4 separate regions of the Homo sapiens genome follow, and all the other regions are linked to region 2. Evidence: promoter capture Hi-C in human tissues and cell types (Jung and others, 2019). All regions are on one chromosome and are shown on one strand. The core of a region is centred on a gene start or on the middle of the fragment in contact, and the rest is flanking DNA. Distances in the headings are between cores, read along the strand shown.

Evidence for each region. The method cuts DNA at HindIII sites, captures the fragments that hold promoters and counts their contacts. A contact is called where the count stands out against the background at its distance.
Region 1: a fragment that was not itself captured here is called in contact with the fragment with the promoter of MYOF in region 2 in 1 of the 25 tissues and cell types used here (H1 embryonic stem cells).
Region 3: a contact is called between a fragment that was not itself captured here and the fragment with the promoter of MYOF in region 2, in 1 of the 25 tissues and cell types used here (H1 embryonic stem cells).
Region 4: a contact is called between a fragment that was not itself captured here and the fragment with the promoter of MYOF in region 2, in 2 of the 25 tissues and cell types used here (lymphoblastoid cells and mesendoderm cells).

What each region holds. Positions count from the first base shown.
Region 1 is chr10:92,986,739-92,993,475 of GRCh38, reverse strand. All of the region lies in intron 18 of EXOC6 (exocyst complex component 6), which reads right to left. Among named protein-coding and RNA genes, the nearest start is that of CYP26C1, 71 kb to the left of the region's middle. RefSeq lists an enhancer at 2,465-2,554. The HindIII fragment of the contact is 3,785 bases long and covers 1,243-5,027 here.
Region 2 is chr10:93,479,753-93,487,145 of GRCh38, reverse strand. MYOF (myoferlin) reads left to right here and starts at 4,812. Exons shown (of 54, transcript NM_013451.4): 1 at 4,812-5,039. The coding sequence starts at 4,952. The HindIII fragment of the contact is 15,058 bases long and covers 144-7,393 here.
Region 3 is chr10:93,104,411-93,111,525 of GRCh38, reverse strand. It overlaps the pseudogene NIP7P1. Among named protein-coding and RNA genes, the nearest start is that of CYP26A1, 34 kb to the right of the region's middle. RefSeq lists an enhancer at 4,540-4,834. The HindIII fragment of the contact is 5,003 bases long and covers 969-5,971 here.
Region 4 is chr10:93,004,705-93,011,668 of GRCh38, reverse strand. The region is part of intron 19 of EXOC6 (exocyst complex component 6); the gene reads right to left. Among named protein-coding and RNA genes, the nearest start is that of CYP26C1, 53 kb to the left of the region's middle. The HindIII fragment of the contact is 4,871 bases long and covers 1,647-6,517 here.

The DNA.
Region 1 (6,737 bases), core at 1,886-4,385, 490 kb after region 2:
TTAAAAAAAGGTTTGATTTCAACAGTAATTATTTGAAAGCACTTTACAATGCTGCTTTCATTCTCTCAAGTACATTTAATGTTAAAATGTGCTCTTGAAATCACATTCTTTCCGTATTGGTCTACTCATCCTTAATGATTCCAGGAGAGTCCATTTTTCTTTATTTATATTCCCACAAAAGGTTAACTTTGTACAATAAACTACTTTTTTACTTAAGTAAAAAGAAATACACAGACTCAAATATATTGTACAACATATTATTCTTTACATTGATAAAAGGTTTTGTTTAAAAAGTCTAACTCTTGTCAAAGAAAAAAGGAAAAACGAAATAAAATCATGGTCAATTTGGATATTAAACCTAACACTGATAAGTGACTTCATTAATTCTGATTCTGTATGGCTTTTTAAAGTTACCTAAATTAACGCAGTAAAATATTATCATTTTATACAAACTCACTATCATCATTTGCTACATAAATTTCAGTTATGAGAATATGAAACAGTCTTTTTCAGAAGCAAAAGAAGGGAAGTATTTTAATGAATTAAATTTTTAATTCATTAATGAATGAATAAATTCATAAATTAATGAATTTAATTTCATTTCAGTATGTGTATTTTAAAAGGTTATAAATTGTAGCTCTCCTAAAGAGTATGTGTATTTTAAAATGTTATAAATTGTAGCTCTTTTAAATTTTAAATTTAAATTTTAAAATACACATACTGAAAGAATGAGGTATTTCATCAGATGGAAACACTAAAATTAAAAATTAAAAATAGTTAATTGAAATATTAAAAAAGAGGTATAGTTGAAAAACAGGTATTTTAATTCAAGAAATCTGTTACTCTTCCATTTTATATAAGAACCACTAATCTAGAGTTTTACTATATGGAACATCTTGTTCAAATGTAAATACTGTTATGAAATCAGGAAAAAGATACCTAAAACACAGAATATGAAACTTTCCCCAAGATTATTTCACAAATGCACAAGAATTTCTGTACCTAGTAAGATCAGTTTTAATTCATTTTCTGGCTGAACACTGTACATAACACTGAAATGTCTGATTCTCAATAATATAGAATAGATATGTTATAAAGGTTTAAATATCAAGATGAATTCCCTTAGTGAGTTCAAATAACATTAATACTACCTTGAAGACAAATTTTTTTTTTTTTTTTTTTTTTTTTGAGACAGAGTCTTGATCTTTCACCCAGGCTGGAGAGCAATGGAAGGATCTCGGCTCACGCAACCTCCACCTCCCAGGTTCAAGCAATTCTCATGCCTCAGCCTCCCAAGTAGCTGGGATTACAGGCATCTGCCATCATGCCCGGCTAATTTTTGTATTTTTGTAGAGACAGGGTTTCACCATGTTGGCCAGGCTGGTCTTGAACTCCTGACCCCAGGGGATCGGCCCACCTGAAGACAAATTTTTGAAATTATGCTCTAAAATTCATAGATCAAAATATACTCATTTTAACACCCACAACATTCCCCCAAATACCTCTTTACACTCTATATTCCTCTTATACTCTATTTCTGTCCATCTCTAACTACTTCCAGCCCTGAAAGAATGAATTGGGACACATCAGTTTACCACAATCCCACAGTCAACTATAAATTCCCATTCTCCCCTCTCAGGTTGTTCTCCTTCCAACAATTACCAATCATAAGGGTATGAGACAGTAACAGAAATGTCTACTCTTAAGACACACACACATACAGAGAGAGAGAGAGAGAGAGAGAGAGAGAAATAGAACGTGATCATCTTAAAGTTGAAAAATTTTTTCCTGAACTGGGAAAACCACAGGACTGCATAATACATGGCGTATTTTTACTTCCCTCAAAACTTCCCCTATCCCAATCATAGGGCTTATCAAACTTTGGCAGTCTTTTTGTTTGTTAAACAATCTTTTGAGTATGGCCTTAGAAGGCATGCAGTATCCAAATTTTTAGCTTTCTACAAGTATCACTGCTTCTGCCATGGCAGTCCCATGATATTGCCAAACTCACCCTAACTTTTGTTTTTTTTTTTTTTTTTTGAGATGGAGTCTCACTCTGTCACCCAGGCTGGAGTGCAGTGGCACCATTTCGGCTCACTGCAACCTCCGCCTCCCAGGTTCAAGCGATTCTTATGCCTCAGCCTCCCGAGTAGCTGTGACTACAGGCGTGAGGGACCATGCCCGGCTAATATTTGTGTTTTTGGTAGAGACGGGGTGTCACCATATTGGCCAGGCTGGTCTCAAACTCCTGACCTCATAATCCGCCCACCTCGGCCTCCCAAAGTGCTGGGATTACAGGTGTGAGGCACCACACCTGGCCAGACTCTGTCTTGGGAAAAAAAAAAAAAAGTTGCCAGAATCACTAATGGTTTAGACAACAGAAGTGGTTTACATATAATCATTAATTAGTAAAGTTGACAAATGTCACTCAAGCAAACTGGCTTCCCTTTCATAGATGTAGGTGGCAGACTATTATAAACAGCCATACACAAAAAGATAGCACAAAGTAGGTCTTTGTCACTCATGAATTTGTATTTAGGTTTCAATTCTTGATATTGACTCTCAGAGTCTAGTACAAGCAGAACTTCATTTGCTGAGGCACACATTTGAATAACATGTTCTGTGAAACGGGTTATGATGGGGGAAAAAATGACTCAGAGACTGAGTGCAGTCAAAGTCTCAACCTCCCTGGGGTTGGGGGAGGGAGAGCATTGGGATAAACAGATAATGCATGCTGGGCTTAATACCTAGGTGATGGGTTGACAGGGGCAATAAACCACCATGGCACATGTTTACTTATATAACAAACCTGCACATCCTGCACATGTACCCTGGAACTTAAAATAGAAAAAAAACACAGAAAAACAGTCTCAACCTTCCTAACACAACGTGGCTTTGCTTTCTTCTGTTAGTTAACATGAATGAAGTAACTCTCATTAAGGTCTACAGCTTCAATTGCATTTTATATAGGTCTTTCCTAATCCACTGGCTTCCTACTAAAACTCTCGTGTTGTTTCCTTTTAAAAGCCCTTTCATTACTACTACTTCCAACTAAGCCCTGACCGAGGGCAATTCAAAATATTGTTTTCTGCAATGTTTGACATCAGGAAAATATTTAAGTATGCTATGCTATATACAAACTTAAGACTTATAATTTATGAAATTAAATTTCTCACCAAGATTAGCCAGAACTTGGCTAACTTAGACAACTTAGTAAATGTCTAAAAGGATTAAAGTTACGAAATACAAATATGTTCATTTTCAACTAAGAAGCAAGATTTTAAAAAATTAACATCTAGTAGTGAAAATCAACTGTTTTATAACATTAAGAAAAAGCTTAATAAGAAAAAAATTCTATTTCAAAGAGTGGACCTTGACTATTTCCAAATTTTTCAAATATTTTGTCTCAAAGTTTTTTTAACTCTTTCCAATACAGGGATATATTATATTGTCAATGGTTTGTTCATGTTGATTTTTGTATACCTGGAATTAACTCATAACAATGGATATAATATAAAAATGGATATCAAAATATGTCATAGAAATACCACTTTGATTCCCACAGAAATAACTACAACATAAAGAACTTTTTGAAAATACTCGATATTCAAGTGCCAAACTTTCAAAATCTCTAATGCAAATTTATCTAAAACTGATCCCATTATCTGTCCCTGCCTCCTTAAACTGACAATAACAATTTGAGTTTTTGGATGGCCGGTCAGTTTTACTTCTGAATATCACTTCTGTATGTTGAATTATATGGTTCATCAGCAGGAAGTCTGTTAGCAAGCTTAATAAGCACTCAATGATTATTATATCGAGTGAGTAAAAAGGGCAAATGAAAGCCTAAGGGTCTGTGTCTTCAACAGGACAAAGTATTTCTCCTTAATGTTGGGAATTTGCAACAGTTATTCTGGTGCTAAAGGGTCTTTTGTTTTGATCACTACTAAATTTACAGTTGAGTCTAGAGAGCTGTGGTTTTAGTTACTGTATTTTTCCTTCACTGAGGTGTGCAAGAAATGAGTAAAGTATAAATACAAATATTTCTAATCAGTACTGGTATCATCTTTACTAAACTCTCATACAGATATTTTCCAAGTTTCTGCCTGAGAATAATAGATTGCACCTTCACTTCAAAACTAGAAAGTATTCTCTATTTGACAAATTTCAATTTGGAAATTGATTTTTTAGGCAGTATACTTTTATACGCTTTATACAAACAAGAAAATGACCTTCATGTTGTCCATTTCTTCACTCTTTCATACTTAACAAAACACTTATCAAGCAACTACTTTGTGTAAGACACTGTGTTAAGTATTACCGAATATACAAAGATGAATAGATGTAGTTCCTGACATAAGAGGTGTAAGTTCTACAATAAGGAAAAGAAGGCAAGTCTACAAACAGCAGTAGTATAAAATAAAAACAGGACCATAAAAGCAAGACAAAGTATCCACATGCAGTTAAGTGGAATCAGCAAAGGCTTTGTGAAAGAGGTTGCATTAGAATGTCTTTGGGAAGAGATCCAGGATTTTTACAGTTATAAATAAAGCTAAGACAGAAAATCCAAGATAGATCCAAGACACAATGAATATGCCAGTTTGGATGCACATGTTTAGTAATGGTCAGAAATGCGTGTGTGTGTGTGTGTGTGTGTGTGTGTGTGTGTGTGTGTATTTTTTGTAGAGATGGGGTTTTGTCATGTCAGCAGTGATCTTGAACTCCTGGCCTCAAGTGATCCACCTGCCTCGGCCTCCCAATATGTTGGGATTACAGGCATGAGCCACCGTGTCCGGCCTCAGAAATATATGTGGAAAGAGGCTGAGATAATTTTCTTTTTGCTAGCCTGTGGAATTTCTACTTAATTCAATAGATAATCAAGAACCCCTGATGTTTCTGAATAGGGAAATAAAATTAGACTGTGCTTCAGAAAGAATAATCTAGCACTGGTATATAGGATGGACTGAAGTAAGGAGACACTGTTGGTAGAGACCAATTAGAAGACAATTACATTAATCAAAACTTGAACTTCAGTAACAGGAATAAGAACAGAAAGAAGAGGATATAGGTTAGGAACACTTGCATTTCAAATGCTAGATAAGATTTTGTTTTTCCCTAAGAAGAATTTTCAATATTTATACATTCAAAGAATACTTGTTAGTTCTTATTCTGTCAAGAGCTCACAAGTAAAGGTGAAAAAGACAAATACGGAAAAAAAGCAAAATACGATAAAGCCGTAAAAAAGGTAAGAGCTAAGGCAATTCAGAAGACCAATACTGGGCTGGGATGAGAAAGAAATACCTGCACTGGGTCATGAATCACACTGGGTCATGCACTGGGTTAGACTTCTACGAGTGCAGTTTGGGATCAGGGTAGTAGAGAAAAAGCATTCAGGAAAAGCATAAACCATCTTTGAAACAAGTAACGATAACAACTAATATTTTTTGAGTATTTATTATATGCCAAGCACTTTTCTAAACATTTTAGGTATACTATTTCATTTAAGCTCACAAAAATCTGTAGGGTATATGTTGCCACATACCTCATTTTACAGATGAGGAAAGACCACAGAGAAGTTTCCAAATGCACCTTAATATTAAGATGCATTTGAGGTGAGTGCAGTGCTTTTACAATCTAGTCTCAGAGAATCTTGACTGCTTCACAAACAACTAATATTACCTTCAAATTTAGGTTTCCACAAAACTAAAAATTTATCAAGGATGTTGCCAAAGTAATTAGCCTTTAATTTAAATACCTAAGCAGAGAAAAATAAGCCTGCAGGAAATTCATTATTTTCTAATGTACATGCTAGCTTTAGTTTATATCTACTTACCGACATGGCTGCATGATCATTGTTGTTAGTCTGAGAAGGAAGTCAGCAAGGCAATCAAATAAAAAAGGAAAATGTATTCTAATCACAGCAGAATCAGTGTTTAAAGTAGCAAAAGGGAATATACTCTAAAACAAGCAAGTTCTTTCTGTGTTTGTTGCTAATTTAGAGGCATTCATCTATCACATAAATGTGACCATAATTTTTTATTTTGAAGATTTAGGCATGAGTTTTTACATCCATACTAATTAGACAAATCCTCCTCCAAACTTTTGTCTCTCTCATCAAGTTGTCTAGTCAGAATTAAAAAACCAAGAGCTTTAGCACTTATGTCTACTGAATAAGCAAATTTAGAACACATCAGTTCTTTGACAAGGTTCTGTGCTACAGAGCAGTGATTCTCAAATATTAAGCAACAAATGCAGCTTGTTAAGCTTCAAAAATTTTAGTTGTTAGGTCTAGGGCCAAGCACTGGAATCTAAATATTTAACAAGAAGCTCTTCCCACAGATGATTTTAATACAGAAAGAAATGTCAATTTCTTCAAAAACGACAAAACTATAGAGAATATATTATTCTGAAGATGCTTAGGATAAGTCTACTTCTTCACATAATCTGCTAATACAGCTTAAATAAATTACTCGAGGAAAGACGGCACACTAAATTATTTTACAGCTAATTATTTAAATGTTTTGTCTCCCCTAAGGAGTGAATAGCAAGTCAAAGTAAAAACTAAATCACTGGTCTCAATTTAAATACATATATGCCCCTGCCGTAGTTCTGTACTAATTATAAGGTACTGGCTTATTCCTTAAAAACATTAAGGATTAAACATTAATTCCATAAATAATAAGAATTAATTAAACTATCCTTAAAGTACTATTTAATTTTTTAAATTACCTAATTTA
Region 2 (7,393 bases), core at 3,563-6,062:
CCCAGGAAGGGGAGGTTGCAGTGAGCTGAGATCATGCCACTGCACTCCAACCTGGGCAATAGAGCGAGATTCTGTCTCAAAATAAAATAAAATAAATGTAATTCACCACATTAAACATAAAATTCATATGATCATTTCAATAAAGTGAAACCATCTGATAAAATCCGACTTTATGTCTTATAAAAAGCCTTAAAACTGGGCATTTAAAAGTAGCTAAGCACTTGCCTGTAGTCTCAGCTACTTAGGAGGTGGAGGCGAGAGGATTGCTTGAGGCCAGGGGTTCAAGGCTGTAGTGCACTATGATTGTGCCTGTGAATAATCACTGCATTCCAGCCAGAAGGACATAACAAGACTCCATCTCAAAAAAAAAAAAAAAAAAACCAAAAAAAAAAACCTCAAAGTTTTAGCAACCTAGGAATAAAGAGAACTCCTTTAATCTTAAAAGGGCTAATTATGAGAAACCTACAGCAAACATCATACTTTATGGTGAAGTATGGAAATCTTTCCCTTTGAAATACAGAAAAAGATAAGGATGTCTGTTATTACCACCCCTAGTCAATATTATAATGAAAGGTCTAATCAACATAGAAATAAATGGGAAAATAAAGTAAGCACAAAGATTGAAAAGGAAGAAACACCCCAGGCGTTATTTGCAGATTCTATAATTGTAATGGTAGAAAATCCATGAGAATTTACTGCTGATTACACTCTCACCAGCGGTGTATGAGACTTCCCGTTGTTCCACATTCTTGTCAAGCTTGGCAATGTTAGATTTTTACATATTTTCCCATCTGGTGAGTATATAATAATAACTCATTGGAGTTTTAATTTGCACTTTTCTAATTACCAATGAGGTTGAGTACCTTTTCATATTTACATTTCCTAATTTATGAAGTGCCTATTCAAATCTTTTACCTATTTTTCCATTGAGTTCTATGTGTTTGTCTTACTAATTTGCTGGAGCTGTTTATGTACTCTGAATACTAGTCCTTTGTAGGTTGTGATTTTAATATAATTGAATTTATCAATATTTCCTTTATGATTTGTACATTTTTTCATATTAAGAAATCCTTTCCTATCCTGGGGTCATATAGATATTCTTCTATGGCTTTTTTTGTTGTTTGATTTTTTTCTTTACTTATTTGTTTTAGAGAGGAGGTCTTGCCATGTTGTCTAGGCTGGATTTCTATTTCTGGCCTCAAGTGATCCTCTTGCCTCAGCTTCCCAAGTAGCTGGGACTACAGGTGTGAGCTGCTGCCACCACCTGGTTAGATTTTTTTTTTTTTTTTTTTAGAGACAGGGTCTCACTCTGTTACCCAGGTTGGAGTATAGTGGCACAATCATGGCTCACTGCCACCAGGACTTCCCAGGCTCAAGTGGTTGTCCCACCTCAGCCTTTCAAGTAGCTGGGACCACAGGTGCATGCCACCACACTCGATTAATTTAAAAAATTTTTTTTAGAGGCAGGGTCTCACTATGTTGCCCAGGCTGGTCTCAGACTCACCTCAGCCTCCCCAAAGTGTTGAGATTACAGGTATGAACCACTGTGTCTGGGCTGAAACATGTTTTATCTTGCTTATTTAGATTTATACTCCACCTGTAATTGATTATGTATTATGTAAGGTTGGAAGTCATTTGTCTTTTTCTCCCACATGAATAGGTAAAAGGCAAATTAAAACTCCAGTGAGATGCTATTATATGCTCACCAGAAGGGCAAATGTAAAAAATCTAACATTGGTTAAGTATGACAAAAATTTAGAACAACAGGAAGTCTCATACACTGCTGGCAAGAGTACCATTGTGGAATATAATTTGGAATTACCTTGTAAAGGTGAAGAAATGCATACATTCTCTGGCCCAGCAAGCAATTCCACCCATAGATTAGACTCTAAATAGACTCATGCACATTTGTGCCAGAACAGTCTTGGACTGTTCAGAACAGCACTGTTTGTAATAGCCCCATTCCCTGAACTGTCCAAATGTCTGGCAGTAGTAGAATGAATTAATCAAATCTGGAGGCCAGGCGCAGTGGCTCATGCCTGTAATCCCAGCACTTTGGGAGGCTGAGGCAGGCGGATCACGAGGTAAAGAGTTCGAGAACATCCTGGCCAACATGGTGACACCCCATCTCTACTAAAGATACAAAAATTAGCCGGGCGTGGTGGTGTGCACCTGTAATCCCAGCTACTCAGGAGGCTGAGGCAGGAGAATTGCTTGAACCCGGGAGGCAGAGGTTGCAGTGAAACGAGATCGCACCACTGCACTCCAGCCTGGGCTACAGAGCAAGACTCTGTCTCAAAATAAATAAATAAATAAAATGTCAGAAACTCATACAATGAAATGCCATATAGCAACAAGAGTGAAGGAAGTAGAGCTACATGAATGAATTTCACAATATAATACTGAGAAAAAAGAAGTCAAACACGAAAGAATCCATTCTGTATGAGTCCATTTCTATAAAGTCATAATACAGCAAAGAATTCACAAAGTATGAACACATGTATGTGTGTACCTATATATATGAATATATGTGTTGTATGTAAAGTTCATAACATACAAAAGAATTTATATCACCAAACAAAGGTCATGAGCAAGCAAACCTAAACTGTTTTGTTGTTGTTGTTTTCGGTAAAAACTACAAAGAAAAGCAAGGAAATCATTACCATAAAAATCAGGAGAGTGGGCCAGGCATGGTGGCTCATGCCTGTAATCCCAGCACTTTGGGAGGCCGAGGTGGATGGATCACCTGAGGTCAGGAGTTTGAGACCAGCCTGGCCAACACGGTGAAACCCTGTCTCTACTAAAAATACAAAATTAGCCGGGTGTGGTAGTGCACGCCTGTAATCCCAGCTACCTGGGAGGCTGAGGCAGGAGAATTGCTTGAACCCGGGAGGTGGAGGTGGCAGTGAGCCGATCACCCCACTTCAATCCAGCCTGGGCAACAAGAGTGAAACTCCATCTAAAAAAAGAAAAAAAAATCAGGAGAGTGGTTACCTCTGGGAGAAGGAGGTGGATATGATATATGGGGTATTCCAGGGGCTTCTGGAGGACTGGCAATGTTCTGTCTTGACCTGGATGCTTGTTAAACTGTCACGTTTATGTAGTATGCATTTTTCTGTAAATATATTTCACAGTAAAAATGGCAAATAGAAAGCAGCCAGATAAAATAAAAGTAATAATCTCTATATTCCACTAAAACTGCCAACATGTCCACTAAATACAATAATGAACACAGCACTGGGTAATTGGTTCTTTGCTTTAAGCCTTGGAGAAACTCGTGGAGACAGAAGAATTCTTGTAGGTTAAGTCATGCTTATTCAATGTACTTGAAATGTTTATTTACAGGTGGGTCTGCTTGATGTGTGTTCTAAAGCAAAAAGAAGCCCAATGTTTCTTCATCCCAAGTTTTAGCCTTTTCTTCTGAAATATAACGAGATCCTGATTTAAAGTCAGCCTGCACTAACAGAAACGCTGTGAGACCACAAATAAGCATGAACTTCTTACATGTGCAAATTACTGTGTGCTTTGTGCCAGCTCCTATGCTATGACCTTTATCTTATAACAGCCTTTATCCCCAGTTCATAGATGAGGAAACTGAGGAAGAGAGGGGTTAAGAAACTTGCTCGCCAGCACGGTGGCTCAAGCCAGTAAAGCTCAAGCCAGTAAAGCTCAAGCCACGGAGGCCGAGGCGGGCGGATCACAAGGTCAAGAGATCGAGACCATCCTTGCCAGCATGGTGAAACCCCGTCTCTACTAAAAATACAAAAAAAAAAAAAATTAGCTGCGTGTGGTGGCGCACGCCTGTAGTCCCAGCTACTCGGGAGACTGAGGCAGGAGAATCGCTTGAACCCGGGAGGCAGAGGTTGCAGTGAGCCAAGATCGCTACACTGCACTCCAGCCTGGTGACAGAGCGAGACTCCGTCAAAAAAAAAAAAGAAAAGAAAAGAAAAGAAAAGAAACTTGCTAAGATGACGTAGCTCAGGGTGGTGAGGCAGAGTCTCACACTCAGATCTGGCTGACTAACCCCAGGCCGCCTCTTGTGATCTCAGCCAAGCTGCACTGTCTTCATGCACCCTCTGGGACAGAAAGACACCATGGGCAGCTGTAGGTCCAGAAACAGTGGGGAGTCACTTCTCCATTTTCACTGAAGGCAATTGGCAGCATTTGAAGAGCCGGGAAAACTTAGGCGCCCAGCTCTCACCTCTGAAGGGGTTTTGAAGAAATTCTATGTTCAGTCCTTTATATATATATATATATATATATATATATATATATATATATATATATATATATATATATAATTATTTATACATATATGTAATTATTTATATATCCCATGCCTGGATCGCGTTTACTTGAAATAAACGCTGTCATTCGTTTGCCGTCCAGTAAGAGGCACCCTTTAGCTGCTTTAAAAAAGCTGAACATAGGGTTACTGAGTGGGTGTGTTCAATGGCGTGAGAAGTAACAGCGAAAAGTCAAAAGCAAATAATGACTAAAGTTTTAAAACTCCTTGAAACTCAGAAAAGAATGAAAGCAGTGACGGAAAAATCAATTAATTCAGTTTCACGAACCATTGCTAAAAGGCAGCAACATTTTAGTGGTTTCCTGACCTACCCGTATTTCTTAGCTCCAAATTCATGTTGGTTTCATTTGTCGCACGGAATTATTTTTAGTTTAGGGTTTGTCCTTTTCACTTCCACATTTCCCGAATTCATAAGTCTGTGCCTGCGGCACTGCGTAGACGCGGGGAGTTCGGTATCAGTTTACACGTTGCCTTCAGTAAAATCCGCCAGAGGTCCACCCATTTTGCCTTTTCCCCTTCCTTGCCCTGGGAGAAATCCTCCCTTCACTGGGAGAGAACTTCTCTCCCAGGGCGGTGCGACCCGGAGCTCCAGCGCCCTAGTCTCCACTTCGTTTGCTGAAACTTGCTTTCTACCAGCTAAGAACCATGCTGCGAGTGATTGTGGAATCTGCCAGCAATATCCCTAAAACGAAATTTGGCAAGCCGGATCCTATTGTTTCTGTCATTTTTAAGGGTAAGAAAAAGTTTTCTTCTTTTTCTGAAGTCCTGTTTTGGAATGTTAGTTTCTTGAGTCACCTTCTTGAAAAGTCTGCATTTAGACAGCTGATGAAGCCAAGTCTCTCCAGCAGCGTTTGTTACCTGCGCAGGACAGGGGAGAGGACCCGTTTCTGGGGAAGGCATTTAATTTTCTCCAGGGCTTGAGACTCATGGAATGACCTGATGTTTTAGCTCTAAGAGTGTGATTTCTGTAAGCTCTTGGCAGAAAACGTATTTGCGAATCACTAAATTTCAGGTATCAACAAACATCTGTATTGGTTCAAAGTAAGTTTCAGTAGTCTTAGATGCATTTTTTCTCTGCCTGTGAGAAATGGGTAAAGGAGGAAGAAGAGCAATTAAATTGTTGGAGACACCATTACTCCTTGAACCAGCCTGACGCTGCTTTGATTGTCACTGGGTTTCTGGGAGGTGGGATGGGTGAAGTTCATAGTTTTATTGAGTTTTCCTGCCCTTTTGTGCCTTTGTAATTGTTTTTATATCTAAACTGTTGGGGAGCTTTTTTTGTACATTCTGTAGCTTTTAAATTGCTCATTGAGGAAAGAACTCTGGACAGCTAGTTTGCAATTTGGGGATCTAGTTCTATCTTGCCTGCTGAATGACCTTGGGCAAGTTACTTCATTTCTCTGGGATCTCAATTTTCTTTTCTGCAAAACAGGCGAGAAGGGTTTAGACAAGATCATCTCTAAAAACCTCATGGTTGGCTGAGCACAGTGGCTCCTCAACCCTGAGCCAACTTTGGGAGGCCAAGGCAGGAGGATTGCTTGAGCCCAGGAGTTTGAGGCTACAGTGAGCCGTGATCACGCCACTGCACTCCAGCCTGGGTGTAAAAATAAATAAAAATAAAAGGCTCATGGTAATTTTAAAAGGCTATTTTTCTATGACACTTGATTGCCATTGCAGGGGAGGGGACAGGAATGCTTGGTGTCATGGTACAATTTGATGTAAGTGACTTAGTTTTGGCTAAAGTGGGGTTTCTAAATCTCAGTGTGGAGGCTTTATCTATTTTGTTTGTCATTGGTAAGACTGCCAACTCACTTCTTGGCAAGAGGGATGGGAAAGAGAGGGAAAGGCAGAGAGAGTGGGAGCATGGATAGACATGTGTTTCCTGACCATGCCTTGCTACATTTCTCGTTTCTTCCAGGAGCCTGACTGCTACTCCCTGTCAGTTCCTGAGGCATCTATACCTTTCGCCTTTCTGTTTCCCGTTTTTCCCCTTTATTTCTCTTCTTAAACCTCTCTCTCTGAGGATGAGCAAGAAAATGAAAGAAATGAAACTCAAAGCTGGCTGGCTGGGTGTGGTGACTTCTGCCTGTAATCCCAGAACTTTGGGAGGCTGAGGTGGGTGGATCACATGAGGGCAGGAGTTCGAGACCAGCCAGGCCAACATGGCAAAACCCCATCTCTACTAAAAATACAAAAATTAGCCGGGCATGGTGGCACATGCCTATAATCCCAGCTACTCGGGAGGCTGAGGCAGGAGGATTGCTTCAACCCAGGAGGAGGAGGTTGCAGTGAGCCGAGATCATGCTACTGCACTCCAACCTGGGCAACAGAGTGAGACTCCGTCTCAAAAAAAAAAAAAAAAAAAAAAAAAAGCTGGCAAATTGTTGGTTGGTTAAAAAAAAAATCTAAAGGGCAAAAATTGGATTTAAAAAAAATTTAAAAAAATTTTTTTGAATAAGACTGGGTCTTGCTATGTTGCCCAGGCTGGTTATAATTCCCTTGCTCAAACTTTCTTCCCATCTCAGCTTCCCAAAGTGTTGGGATTACAGGCGTAAACTACCACGCCCAGCTTAAAATTGGGCTCTTAAAGGACAATGAGGTTTGAAAATCTGGCTAGTGAATATCATGGACTCACGTTATGTCAGAGTTTATTTACATGTGTTAGGTTTTATTAATTTTTTGTTTTCTTGAAGCAGTTACATAATAGAGACATAATATGAAGATTTTACATCCTTCATCATTGACATATAAAGACATTAAAATATATTTGGATCAGTCCGATCATGTAATTATTTAAGTATTATAGATTATAGAGGAATTGGAGTTAATACTATATTGAAATCTGACTTGTTATTTGTCTGGAGTTTGTATGCATTGATGAAACATTTTAAATGATGAAAAATATATCTAAGTCAATGAATGCAAACAATCAATTGAAAGTGGAAAACTTCAGTTAAGTTGGCAAATATAGTCTATACAAACAATTACACATTTAACTTTAGTCTCTTTTCTGGCCTCCTTTTTTCATACAAATCGAGTGGTAAAGTCATTCATTCATTTAGCTAACAAGCAACCTGACAGAGGAAA
Region 3 (7,115 bases), core at 2,221-4,720, 370 kb after region 2:
AGCCGCAAATTGAAAGGCAGAGATTGAGGCCCGGCATGGTGGCTCACACCTGTAATCCCAGCACTTTGGGAGGCCAAGATGGGAGGATCACTTGAGCCCAGGAGTTTGAAACCAGCCTGGGCAACATGGTGAAACCCCTTCTCCAAAAAATGCAAAAAAAATTAGCCAGACATGGTGGTGCGTGCCTGTAGTCCAAGTGGATAAAAAGTAGAACTCAAATATATGTTATCTATAAGACATAAAGCTTCATTATGAAGACACACATAGACTGAAAATGCTTATAGCTTTATTTATAATAGCCCCAAACTGAAAACAACCCAAATATACATTCAACAGATGAACAAATCGTGGTATACCAACAAGATAGAATTTTACTCAGCAGTCAAAAGGGACAAACTGTAGTACACCTATCAGCATGGATAAATCTCATAAAAACATTAGGCAGAACAAAAGACTTCAGATCCAAAAGAGTACACACTGCATTGATATAAAGTTCTGGAACAAGCAAAGCTCATCTACAGTTAACGAAAACAGTGGTTGACTAAAAGAGGAATTGACTCCACATAGATATGAGGAAACTTTCTAAGGTGATAGAAAAGTTTACTTTCTTGATTGTGATGGTGATTATACAAATGTGTTCATCTGACAAAACTCATTGAGCTGTATACTTAAAATGTGTGTGATTTAAGGTATGTAAATTCATACCCCCCAAAAATTGTTTTTTTTAAAAAAAGAGGATGAAAATGTGCAATGGTTAAGCCACTGTGGAAAGCAATTTGGCAGTTCTTCAAAAAGTTAAGAATAGAATTATCATATGACCCAGCAATCCCACTCCCAGGTGTATTCACAAAAGAATTGAAAACAGGTACTGAAACAAACACATAGGCACGCATGCTCATGGCCACAGCATTCACAATATCTGAAAGGTGGAAACAACCCAAATGTCCATCAGCAGATACATGAATCACAAATCATGGCATATACATTAAAGGAAATCAAAATAGTGCACCCAAAACCAAAAATCTGACGTATTTTGAGATAGCTGTTCAGAGGGCTTGCAAACAGAAGTAGGCCTGCAAAGCTGCCTTTTGTGGAAGAGACTTGGCATCTGTAGAGAAAATCTGCACAGATGCAGCCAGGCTTTTTCTGAGGCCTTCCTTTGTCTAATCTAGGAAAGATTAACTGAGAGTCTGACACCTTTAAAAGTCTGGAAGAGCCAGGCATGTTGGCTCACGCCTGTAATCCCAGCACTTTGGGAGACCAAGGTGGGTGGATCACCTGAGGTTGGGAGTTCGAGACCAGCCTGACCAACATGGAGAAACCCCGTCTCTACTAAAAATACAAAACTAGCTGGGCATGGTGGTGTATGCCTGTAATCCCAGCTACTCGGGAGGCTGAGGCAGGAGAATCGCTGGAACCTGGGATGTGGAGGTTGCAGTGAGCCGGGATCGTGCCACAGCCTGGGCAACAAGAGCGAAACTCCACTGAAAAAAATAAAAATAAAAATAAAAAAATAAAAGTCTGGAAGACACATTTGCCATCTATTCTTTCTGAGGGCTGCTACCTGTGAAGTTTCATTTACATTACAAGACCACGTATGCTAGCCATGCCTCCCCTTCTCCCCCTCCCATAACCTGTTTTGCCATAATCCAAGCCGTTATTCTTTCTGCAACCTCAAGATGTTGTATAAGCTTCTGAACCCTATTGAGGGGTTGGGGTAATTACTCTGTGGTTTTCTCCCATGTGCACATTAATAAATCTGTGTGCCTTTTCTCTTATTAATTTGCCTTTTGTCAGTTGATTTTTCAGCAAAATTTCACAGGGCAAAGGAGGAGTTTTCCCTTGGCCCTTACAACACAGAATGAAAGAAATATCATTTGGCAATAAAAAGGAACGAACTACTGATACATACTACAGCATGGGTGAGCACTGAAATTGAAAACATTATGTTAAGTGAAAGAAGCCAGACACAAAAAATCACATATCATAGGATCCTATTTACATGAAATATCCAGAATATTTAAATCCATAGAGAAGGCACAGGCCAAGGACTGAGGGAGGGGTAATAGGTTTCCTTCTGGGGTGATAAAAATGGGGACTAGACAGAGGTGGTGCTTGCACCACATTATGAATATACTAAATGCCCCTGAATCGTTCATTTTTCAATGGTTACTTTTATGCTATTTGAATTTCACATCAATAAAAAGAGATTTCTTTCTACTTCCAACCAAGAAAGAGTAATGGAAACCAGATTTACCTCCATGCCTGAAACAACCAAAAAGAATGGACAAAATATATGAAACGGTCGTTTCCAGGACACTTGGTAACAGGCAACAAAGGACAGTGATCCCTGCGTGATAAGGAACAAATGACGGGAAGCCTATGACCGCCCCAGCTTACGGACTTGAAAGAGTTTCCAGGCCACAGCACATGGAGGAGTAATTCAAGCAGAATCCAGCAGACCCCTCAATCGAGGAGACACAGCTAAGAGTCTGGAAAGACCCAGACAGTAAGAGGAATATAGTAACTATAGGAATATAAAATATCTTATTAAACAAAAAAACAAGATGTAACTCAGAATGTCTGGCATCCAATTAAAAATTACCAGGTAAAATAAAGAAGCTAAAAAATGTGATCCAAAATGAGGAGAAAAATTACCAGTTTAAACCAACCCAGAACTAATGCAGATGTCAGAATTAGCAGAGATAGACATTGTAACAGTTATTATAACTATATTTTATGTGTTCGAAAAGTTAAGCAGAGACAAGGAAGATAATACCAGAGGGCTGGGAGAAGACACGCAAACTGAACTTCTACAGATGCAGACTACGATGTCTGAGGTGACAAATAGTGTGGGCTGCGTGCAGTGGCTCATGCCTATAATCCTAGCACTTTGGGAGGCTGAGGCTGGCGGATCACTTGAGGTCAGGAGTTTGAGACCAGCCTGGCCAACATGGTGAAACCCTGTCTCTACTAAAAATAACAAAAATCAGCCAGGCGTGGTGGCACGTGCCTGTACTCCCAGCTGCTCAGGAGGCTGAGGTGGAAGGATAGCTTGAACCTGGAAGATGGAGGTTGCAGTGAGCTGAGATCACACCATTGCACTACACTCTGGGTGACAGAGCAAGACTCCGTCTCAAGAAAAACAAAAAGGAAAAAAAAATACTGTGGATGGGATTAATAGCGGATGAGACATGCAGAAGAAAATAGTAAATTCAAATAGATAGCAATAAAAACTACCCAAAATGAAACAAAGAAAAGAGAATTTTAAAAATGCAAACAGCATCAGTGAGCCATGAGATGACTTCAAGCAGTCCCCAAAGGAGAGGAAAGAGAGAAAGGAAAAAATAATTGAAGAGAATTATTGGCGGCCGGGTGCGGTGGCTCAAGCCTATAATCCCAGCACTTGTGGGAGGCCAAGGCAGGCGGTTCACGAGGTCAGGATATCAAGACCACTCTGGCTAACATGGTGAAACCCTGTCTCTACTAAAAATACAGAAAATTAGCCGGGCGTGGTGGTGGGTGTCTGTAGTCTCAGCTACTTGGGAGGCTGAGGCAGGAGAATGGCATGAACCCAGGAGGTGGAGCTTGCAGTGAGCCGAGATTGCGCCACTGCAGTCCAGCCTGGGTGACAGAGCGAGACTCCGTCTCAAAAAAAAAAAAAAAATTATTGGCTAAAATTTTACAAAATTTGATGAAAAGTATAAATCCACAAATCCAAGGAGCTCAACAAACTCCAAGCACAAGGAATTTGGAAGTATATTATAATCAAAATGCTCCCAACCAGTGTTAAAGAGAAAATCTTAAAAAGCATTCAGAGGGAAAAAAAACCCCACATTATGTACAGAGAAACAGAGGTGGGACAGCAATAAATGTCTTGTTAGAAACAATCGAAAAAAGTAAGACAGTGGAGCAGTATCTTTAAAATACTGAAATAAAAAAAACTATTAATCTAAAATTCTCTACTTGGTAAAAAATGTCTTTCAAAAACAAAAGTAAAATAAAGACTATTAGGCAGACAAAAGCTGAAAGACTTAATTAGAACAGACCCACATTACATGAAAGGTTTTTTTAAAAGTTCAGGTTTCCCTGCCAATGGGGCATGAGGATCCGGTGTTCCATTCTAGCGGGAAAATGTGGACTTGGCTGAAGAGCAGGCCCATATAATGTTTGAGAAGACCATGAAATACATCAGGGAGAATCTGCTGCCACTTGACAGGCCCGACGGCACCTACGCTATGTGAGTGAGAAGATTCTGAAGTTGGCTGCCAGTATCTCCAGGGACAAGCTGGTGTTGCTGGGAACCTGCTTCGGAAAATTCACTAAGACCCACAGGTTTCAGTTGCACATCACAACTCTGGATTACCTTGTACCCTATACCAAGTATAAAGTGCGGATAAAGCCTAGAGCTTCTTCCTGGAGCAGGTCAGTCCTTCCCGTATGGGAACCATCTGTTGAAATATGGTCTGGGTTGAATCACCAAAAAGACTTCTCAGTACCAGGCAGTGGTGGTGTGCTCCATGGCAGACATTCCTTGGGTTTTGGGGTGGCAGGAAAATCTACACAAGACTGCAGAAAAGTGGACCTCCTGGTGACTGTGGTATTTCATCATGCAGACACTGGGAAATATGTGAGACATGAAATGACGTTGACTTAAAACGAAGTCAAGGCCTCACAGCTGTGTGGAAGGGCCAAGCTTTGTTCCCTGTATTTGTGCAGACTCCACTATCATGTTGAACTTTGTCAACACTGTGACCTCTTCAGGGACTCCTCTGTTTACTATTCTCTCTACCACTGACAGATGCAGGCTGGATTCTTACTGTACAGAAATGACTTTAAAATGGAGTTTCAGATCTTTGTGTTTGCACTAAATAGAATGTTTTGTTTTGTATTTGAATCAGGCGGCTTCTTGTTCTGAATAACAGGTTCAAAATCATTGGAACTGAGGACAAGAATATCTGTGATAACACTTTGTTTTCCAAACTCATAAGAGCACAATGGATTTTCTCTGTTGTTTATTCACATGATGAAAGATAGATATTGACACATCAGAATAGTAGGCCACTCCTGGGATTTTGCATATGAAATTTGGCTAAAATAACAAGAGAAATTTATTCAGCTATTTTTCTATACAGTAAATTCTGTATGGTGAGGAAGAAAAACTTGGGTTCAAACCCCAGTTCTGCTGCTGACCAGCTATATGGCCTTGGATGAGTCATTCAACTTTAATAAGCATCATTTTCTTCTTCTGTTTGAAAAAACCACAAAACTTTTAAAAGCTTTAATCATTTACCTGAGAATGGTTTTTAGAATTAGAAATCAGGCCGGGCATGGTGGCTCATGCCTGTAATCCCAGCACTTTGGGAGGCCAAGGTGGGTGAATCACCTGAGGTCAGGAGTTCAAGATCAGCCTGGCCAACGTGGTGAAACCTTGTCTCTACTAAAAATACAAAACATTAGCCTGGCATGGTGGCACACGCCTGTAATCCCAGCTACTCAGGAGTCTAAACCAGGAGAATCGCTTGAACTCGGGAGGTGGAGGCTGCAGTGAGCTGAGATCGTGCCATTGCACTCCAGCCTGGGCAACAAGAATGAAACTCCGTCTCAAAAAATAAAAATAAAATTAGAAATCATAATTGTAAAGCATCTAGCACAGTGCCTGGGAAATGTTACGTATTGAATAAATGGTAAGAGTTATTTTTCTAGTACATATATTATGTATTTCTATTACGAGGTGTGGGGTCTTATGAGTGTCATTTGATTACATTATCTTGTTTTTTTGTTTTTTTTTTTGTTTTTTTTTTTTTGTTTTTTTTAATGAGAAAGAGTCTCGTTCTGTTGCCCAGGCTGGAGTGCAATGGCGCCATCTTGGCTCACTGTAACCTCCACCTCCTGGGTTCAAGTGATTCTCCTGCCTCTGCCTCCCGAGTAGCTGGGATTACAGGCGTGCACCACCATGCCCAGCTAATTTTTTTGTATTTTTAGTAGAGACGGGGTTTCACCATATTGGCCAGACTGGTCTCAAACTCCTGATCTTGTGATCCACCCGCCTTGGCTTCCCAAAATGCTGGGATTACAGGTGTGAGCCACCACGCACAGCCTACGTTATCTTGTTTTTTACGAGCTGTTTCCTCGCTCTTTTTCTTGGATAGAATGAGCCCAGGCTGAAATGTTTTTTTTATCACTTTGATTTCATGAAACATAATTTATTCACAGGAAAAAAAAGTTCAGGCAGAAGGTAAGTGATACCAGATATAACTATGTATCTACACAAAGGAACAAAGAACACCAACAATGTTAGCTATATAAGATTTGTTCTTAATACGCAAATATCTTTAAAAATAATTAATAGTTTTGGGGTTTGTTTTTTTTAACCCTTATTCTATCTTTATTTTTATTAATAAGAATGAAGAACATAAACAGAAAACATGTAAAAATAGAAGTAATTATACAATGTAAAAGATTCCCTCTTCAAAAAAGACAAAGAGCACAAGTTTTTAAAATTATCAGTTTACACCCTCAAAATATGGAACAATTTCTTTAACACAACCATACTCAATATCATTGGCAATTAAGTGAAAAGTAAACAATTCACACAAAGCTGGTGAAAATGTAAACTGGCACAGCTTTGCTGTAAGAAAAAAATCAAGTGAATATTAAAAGCTTTGGAAAATAACCTTTCATACATCCAACAATATTTATTTGTTAGGCCCCGTATGAGGTTTTAAATATGTTAACAAGACTGACCTTGTCCCGGTTCATGATCCAGTGGTGGAATGATGAAAGACAAAATTTTTAAAATAATAGCTAATTACAAAAGATGTTATGGAAGGAAGAGTCTACTTAAGAAAAGGGTAGTTGGGCAAAGCCTGAGAGGTATCCTGTATACTATAGATTGTACTAAATGCTATACATATATTGATAATAGACAGGTTTAATTAAAAAATAACAACATATCAAGAGGTTTCTAACATGTTTAAATGTGTATACTTATACCAAATAAAATGTTTATATATATATATATATATATATATATATATATGTATATATAGCAACAGGAGCATAAAGGCCTAAAGGTAAAAATATGAATCCGAGGTATATTGTTGTAAGGTTAT
Region 4 (6,964 bases), core at 2,833-5,332, 470 kb after region 2:
TTATATTACATAGTAAAATACATTATTTTATGTTGGCCTTTTATATTATAATCATAAAAGGTGTTTAAATTAAAGGTGTTTTCTAACTTTAAAAAAATACTTTTTTTGGCTGGGCATGGTGGCTCATGCCTATAAATCCTAGTATTTTGGGAAGCCAAGGCTGGAGGATTGCTTGAAGCCAGGAGTTTAAGACCAGCCTGGGCAACATAGCAAGGCCCCATCTCTACAAAAAAAAATTAAAATTAGCCAGGCATGGTGGCATGCACCTGTAGTAGTTCCACCTACTGGGGAGGCTAGGGCAGGAGGATCACTTAAGCCCAGGAGGTTGAGGCTGCACTGAGCCATGATCGTACCACTGCACTCCAGCCTGGGTGACAAAGCAAGATCTTGTCTTAAAAAAAAATACTTAGGACCATCCAGCATTTTATTGGCCTTTTTTTTTTTTTGGTCACAAAAAAAAACCATAAATCCCTAGTGGTTCTCAACCAAGGCTGTAAATGTTACCATAGCTTCTACCATCACCATGGATAGATACACATATACTCATAAATAAAGACTTTCTATGATGCAGGGAGACTCATTTTATCAGGCACAAAAATAAGCTCAATTTCAATTAGACATATAGTTATTATCTACTTAATGCTCAGAATTTTTCTACATTAAAAATAATCTTAAAATAATTTTTCTTCTCCCTAGGTTCCTGTTGAAGATACTATCATTTAACCAAAGAGCTCAATGTCAAAATTAATGATACTATAAATTTATATAGCACTTTATACTTTACTAAGCACTTTCTCACACACCATCTGCTCTGAGCATCACAATAACTTACTTGAGTAAATAGGGCATGCAGATGATGGATCATAAAATCTTGCAACTGAAAGAGACAACCTCTTTGAAACACGTCCAACAGTCCCCTAAAGACTCAGTTTAAAAGTTGCCGAGTCCATTTTTTTTTTTTTTTTTTTAAGAGATGGAGTCTTGCTTTGTCATCCAGGGTGGAGTGCAGTGGCGCAATCTTGGCTCACTACAACCTCCTTCTCCCAGGTTCAAGCGTTTCTCATGCCTCAGCCTCCCAAGTAGCTGGGATTACAGACGTATGCCACCATGCCCGGCTAATTTTTGTATTTTTAGTAGAGAGAGGGTTTCACCATGTTGGCCAGCTGGTCTCAAACTTCTGACCTCCAGTGATCTGCCTCGGTCTCCCAAAGTGCTGTGATTACAGGCGTGAGCCACCACACCCAGCTGAGTCCTTCATTTTACAGGGCAGAAAAATTAAAAGGAAAGTGACTTGCCCGGGATTATATAACTAATTCAGGTTTTCTGGCATTTACTCCATTAATCCAGAATCTGATTAAGTATTCAGTCTCTCATCTTTTATCACATCTCTCATAAGAATCTAATCAATATGGAAGTGAAATTCACTAGATTATAACACTCAGGGCTTTTTCTCAAATTTTTTTAGGGGTAGAAGGCAATTTAGTGATCTGATAATCATCTGGCACAGAGGACATTCGTAATGATATGCTATTGATTCACAGCTTCGTATTTTTCCCTTTATTTCTTTAAAACTCAACTGCAGTCAATCTTGTTGTTTCTACTTCCCAAAATATCTCCTGAGTCTGAATTTGTTTCTACCTTAGTACAAACTATCATCATTTCTTGCTTGGATTACTGAAACACACCCTATCTGATCTCCCTGCTTCTGGTGCAACCTCTCCATCCACTTCTTCCAGTAGGATTTACACAGATGTGACTTGTGCCACCTCACAGTTTAACATCCTTCAATAGTTCCCCATCATCTTCAAATAAAACAAGGCTAAGGTCCTTTGCAATCTAGCCTTTGTCTATCTGCCAGCCTCATCTCATCATTTCCCTAGGGGCACCTTAGTTTCTATACCACACCAAACTACCTGTACTTCCATGCATATACCACTCTCTTTCCATGATGCTTTGATCCCTCTGCCTACAGCATCCTTCCTCTTATTTTCCATCTGGGTAAACTCTTATTTATCCTTCAATCATCGTCTTCCTTGGGAAGACTTCCATTATCCCTGCAGGTTGGCTTATGTCCTTTCTCTGTGTTCTCACTGCAACTTCCTGTGCACAGCCTAACTTCAGCACTCACTTTGCTGCCTTGTAATTGTTTATCTGTCTGGGTCTTCCCACTAAATCATGAACTCCCTGAGAGCAGGGACGGTAACTTCACTTCTACATTCTTATCACCTAGCGCAATGCCTGACTTATAATGAGTATTCAATGAAAGTTTCTTAAATGAATGAAGAAAAACAGAACCATAAATAAATTCTAAGGAATGTCATCCAGTATTGGATAGTGATATATTATGTAGCTTGTTGATTAGATTTAGAATGGTGCTGTCCAAGAGAATGTTCTGCAATAATGAAATGTAATATCCATGCTAAACTTAATTTTTGGTTTTATTTTAGTTAATTTTTTTTGCGACAGGGTCTCACTCTGTTGCCCAGACTGGAGTGCCATCACAGCTCACTGCAGCCTCCCTCAACCTCCTGGGCTCAAGCAATCCTCCCCTCTCAGCCTCCTGAGTAGCTGGGACTACAGGTGCCATCATGTCTGGTTATTTTTTTTATTTTCTGTAGAGACAGGGGGACTATGTTGCCTAGGCCAGTCTCAAACTCCTGGCCTCAAGCAGTCGTCCTGCCCTGGCCTCTCGAAGTGCTGAGATTACAGGTATGAGGCACTGCATCCAGCTTAATTTAAATTTCCTAGCCATATGTATTTATTTAACAGTGCAAATCAAGAACATAACTGTATACACTTAGTGTATTTATATAAAAGTAATTTAGGGTGGGTGAAAATACTCCTAATAGTTTCTTCAATTAAAACTAAATCATGAGCTCTTCCACTAAACAAGAAGCTCCTGGGAAGTAGTTACATACACCATACCTGTCACCTAGGAAACAGTCAATAAATGTGTGTTGAATGAATAAATAGTAATACAAATCATTTCTACTAATATTGTCTATGGTCCCAATAATTCATGGGGTCAATTTTAATCTTTTAAATTTTTAAAGAATTGATGACTAATTTTTGAAATCTCTAGAAGTACTATCGTCAAATTACTTTTTGGCTCATTCAGATTCTCATTTTGTATATAATTTGTCATATTTTGGGGATTCCTAATTCTCCTCCCTTGGACCATCTTTAAAATTTTAAAAACAATAATGCCCACTTCCCCCCCTATTATGGTGTCTTTGTTTTTGTCATTTAGCCATGCCTTTAAGGGTATTTTTAAATAACACACATTGATCCTGGTTTCCCAATAAGATATGTAAAAATCATTTCCAGACTATGAAGTGTTCTTTTTTAAGAGATTCCAAATCTTTGTTTTTTTCTCTTAATGCCTCCAATTTGACTATTTCCTTTTTAATAAACAAAATAACTTCAGGATATTCATTTCCTCTTATTTTCTGCAATAATAAATGATTTCAAATTTTCTTTTCTTTTCTTTTTTTGAGATGGAGTCTCACTCTGTTGCCCAGGCTGGAGTGCAATGGCACAATTTTGGCTCAATGCAACCCCTACCTCCCAGGTTCAAGCGAGATTCTCCTGCCTCAGCCTCCTGAGTAGCTTTGATTACAGGCATGCACCACCAGGCCCTGCTAATTTTGTATTTTTAGAAGAGAAGGGGTTTCACCATGCTGCCCAGGCTAGTCTCAAACTCCTGACCTCAGGTGATCCGCCCACCTTGGCCTCCCAAAGTGCTGAATTACAGGCGTGAGCCACCGCACCCGGCCTGATTCCAAGTTTTCAAATATTCTTAGATTAGAGAAGGAGGTGTCTGATCTTATTGGGAAGGTATATTATAACAATAGAGTAAAACTCTGCTATATCAGCCTAACTTGGAAGAAGACTAGTTTGAATCAATTTAGATGAAAGTGGGAACAAAAAATAATGTATGCGGGGTAAGCTGTGATTATAACAAAACTATCTTCCAAATTGGCAATCGATGAAGTTGGGTTTTTGTTTTGTTTTTGGAGACGGAGTCTCGCTCTGCTGTCCAGCCTGGAGTGCAGTGGTGTGATCTCGGCTCACTGCAACCTCCATCTCCCGGGTTCAAGCAATTCTCCTGCCTCGGCCTCCAGAGTAGCTGGGATTATAGGCATGTGCCACCACACCCAGCTAATTTTTTTGTATTTTTAATAGAGACGGGGTTTCATCATGTTGGCCAGGCTGGTCTTGAACGCCTGACCTCAGGTGATCCACCCACCTCGGCCTCCCAAAGTGCTGGGATTACAGATGTGAGCCATTGCGCCCAGCCGGCAATCTATGAAGTTTTAAGAGAACAAAGAATACCTGTAGGCAAAACATGAGTTATTTGTATATATAAAAAAAAAAAAATTTTTGAGTAGGAAAACAGGCCCTTCCCCTCAGGATCTATGCAAAATGTAAAGGGTTTGTTACGAGGGGGGAAGGAAAATTGCCAAGATGTCAGGCCATAAGTATTTATCTTGACTGGAAAATATAAAACCTACTCTGAAATTAAACTCAGAGGGAATTAAACTCAGAAGTCCTTGAAAAATCTTGTTCTAGGCAGACAGTTATCTTTATCATAAGGCAGAGAATGTAGATTGTTTACAATGTAGATATAGAAAACATCCATACAGGGTAGGAAGAATTGTCAGGGGGTAAAGAGGGTGGGGGAGAAAAAGGGCCCATGGAGTCATAAGAGGGAATACATCAGAAGCTTGACAAAAGACTGAAAGAAAGGGGAGGAGGCTAAGCTAAAGTTTTAAGATCTTGCTTGCAAATGACCACACAGGTGCATATAAAATGGAATAATTCTGTAACTAAATAAATGGCTGAATATGAATGCCAATATTCATTCTATTTGAAGATACTTCTTGTAATTTCATTTCTATCTAGATCTGAATATTAAAGTAGCTAGTAAGAACTCAAGTTTTGTTTAACAAACTTTGTTATTAGACAAACAAAGTATCCCATGTGAACCAGCTGTGTCGTTAGAAGGAATGACTAAGAGCACCATCTAGTGGTTTTTCTGGTGGTGAAGAACTTATGCCTGGGAATCAGGAGAGTTAGGATTCTTGGCTTTTAGATGTATTTTCTGCTGTATGCGGTCAGCAACAGTGGGATGCAAACCTCGAGGACCAACTGTTACTCTACCTTCATCACCTCATTTTTATATAAAGTAGTATCTAGTTTTCTCCATTTCTTGGAATTAAACCTGGGCAAAGTATCCTCCATCAGATAGGTTAGGTATCAAATTCAGGTATCCAAACCAGGAACAAATTCAGGTATCCAAACAGTGTAACAGCATCCAGCTTACTTTTTAAAAAGGCACTGAAATATTCTTCTCTTACCATCCAGATGATTTTGCCTTAATACTTTTATTATGGGGCACAGCCCTTTTTCAAGGCTAGAATTAGAGGTCATAGTCGCTAAAACTCTATAAACAGCATCCTTTTTTTTTTTCTTTTTTGGCTAAGCTTTCTTGTTTTGTTTTGTTTTTGAGACAGGGTCTCACTCTGTCACCCAGGCGGGAGTACAGTGGCATGATCACGGCTCACTGCAGCCTTGACCTTCCAGGCTCAAGCAATTCTCCCACCTCAGCCTCCTGAGTGGCTGGGACTACACATGTGCACCACCACATCTGAGTAATTTTAATTTTTTTTGCAGAGATGAAATCTCCCTATTTTGCCCAGGCTGGTCTCGAACCCCTGGGCTCAAGCGATTCTCCAGTCGTGGCCTCCCAAAGTGCTGGGATTACAGGCATGAGCCATTGTGCCCAGCAGGTTAAGTTTTTATCCAAAAATTAAGAAAGACCAAGGCTTTCACATTAAGAAACTTATCTACTCTCCAATAACTCACCATTGAAATAGGTGCCAGCACTCTTTAATCTGGAGCTATTCTAATGCCTTTTCTAATACCTACAGATTTCAGATGTTAAACCCTTAGGAGCTAATAACCTAACTTAGACATTTGGGCAGAATGAATTTAAAAATGTATTCTAGACCTACTCTGGATACTTCAAATATAGAATAGGTCTTTCTGATTGCCTGATGCTTGGGAAATAGTCTGTATTTTCTTAGTAACAGGAAGAATTTCTGTGACACCTTTGTAAGAACTTGTTTAGAAGACATATTAATCTTTTCTTCTATATGGTTATATCTATAAGGTATCTATATTGGTACCCAATATATAATAAGTATTTAATAAATATAAAACAAAGTACATACACTGATTCAGAACATCATTCTCATACCTTGGCAAATGCTCCTCCAAATAAGAAGACATTTATCTTGAACTTGTATAAAATTTATACTAAGATCAAAGGTTCAATGTAGCTTTCAGAGGGAGCTATTTTTGCAATTTCCAAGTATGTATTCCTGGTTATCTTCCTGACTGTCTCCAAACATGCAGTTATACTAGCATGATGGTTATGGTCAAATTAACCAAAAGTTAACCTCTATATTCATACATAGATCCTACCTAGTATTCTCATACCATATACTTTTACAAAGTTTAACAATTTATAGTCATATTTATTAATGAAGTTATTAATTACTGTTTCCCCACTGGACTTAAACTCCAAGAGGGTAAAGACCTTTTCTGTTTTGCTTACCACTGTATTCCCTCAATGCCATGCACATAATAGATATGAAGACATAATTAATATATGACTTCAAAGCCCCACACTCTTCAATGTCTTAACATTTAACTGCCTTTGAATCTTAGAACCAGGACGTTATCTTGAAACATTTATCAATTCCAAATTCCATGTGTTATGGGAAAAATTTAGGCCTCTTGATGGTTGAAGGGTTTGTCCAAGTCAACTTGCTCAAGTTAGAGGCAAAGCCAGGACTGGAAGCAAGGTCTCAACTTCCTGACATGTACTCAGACCATCTTAAGACTGATCTGAAAGCAATTTAAAAAAGAAAAGTTCTATATAAGTTCATATAATTCT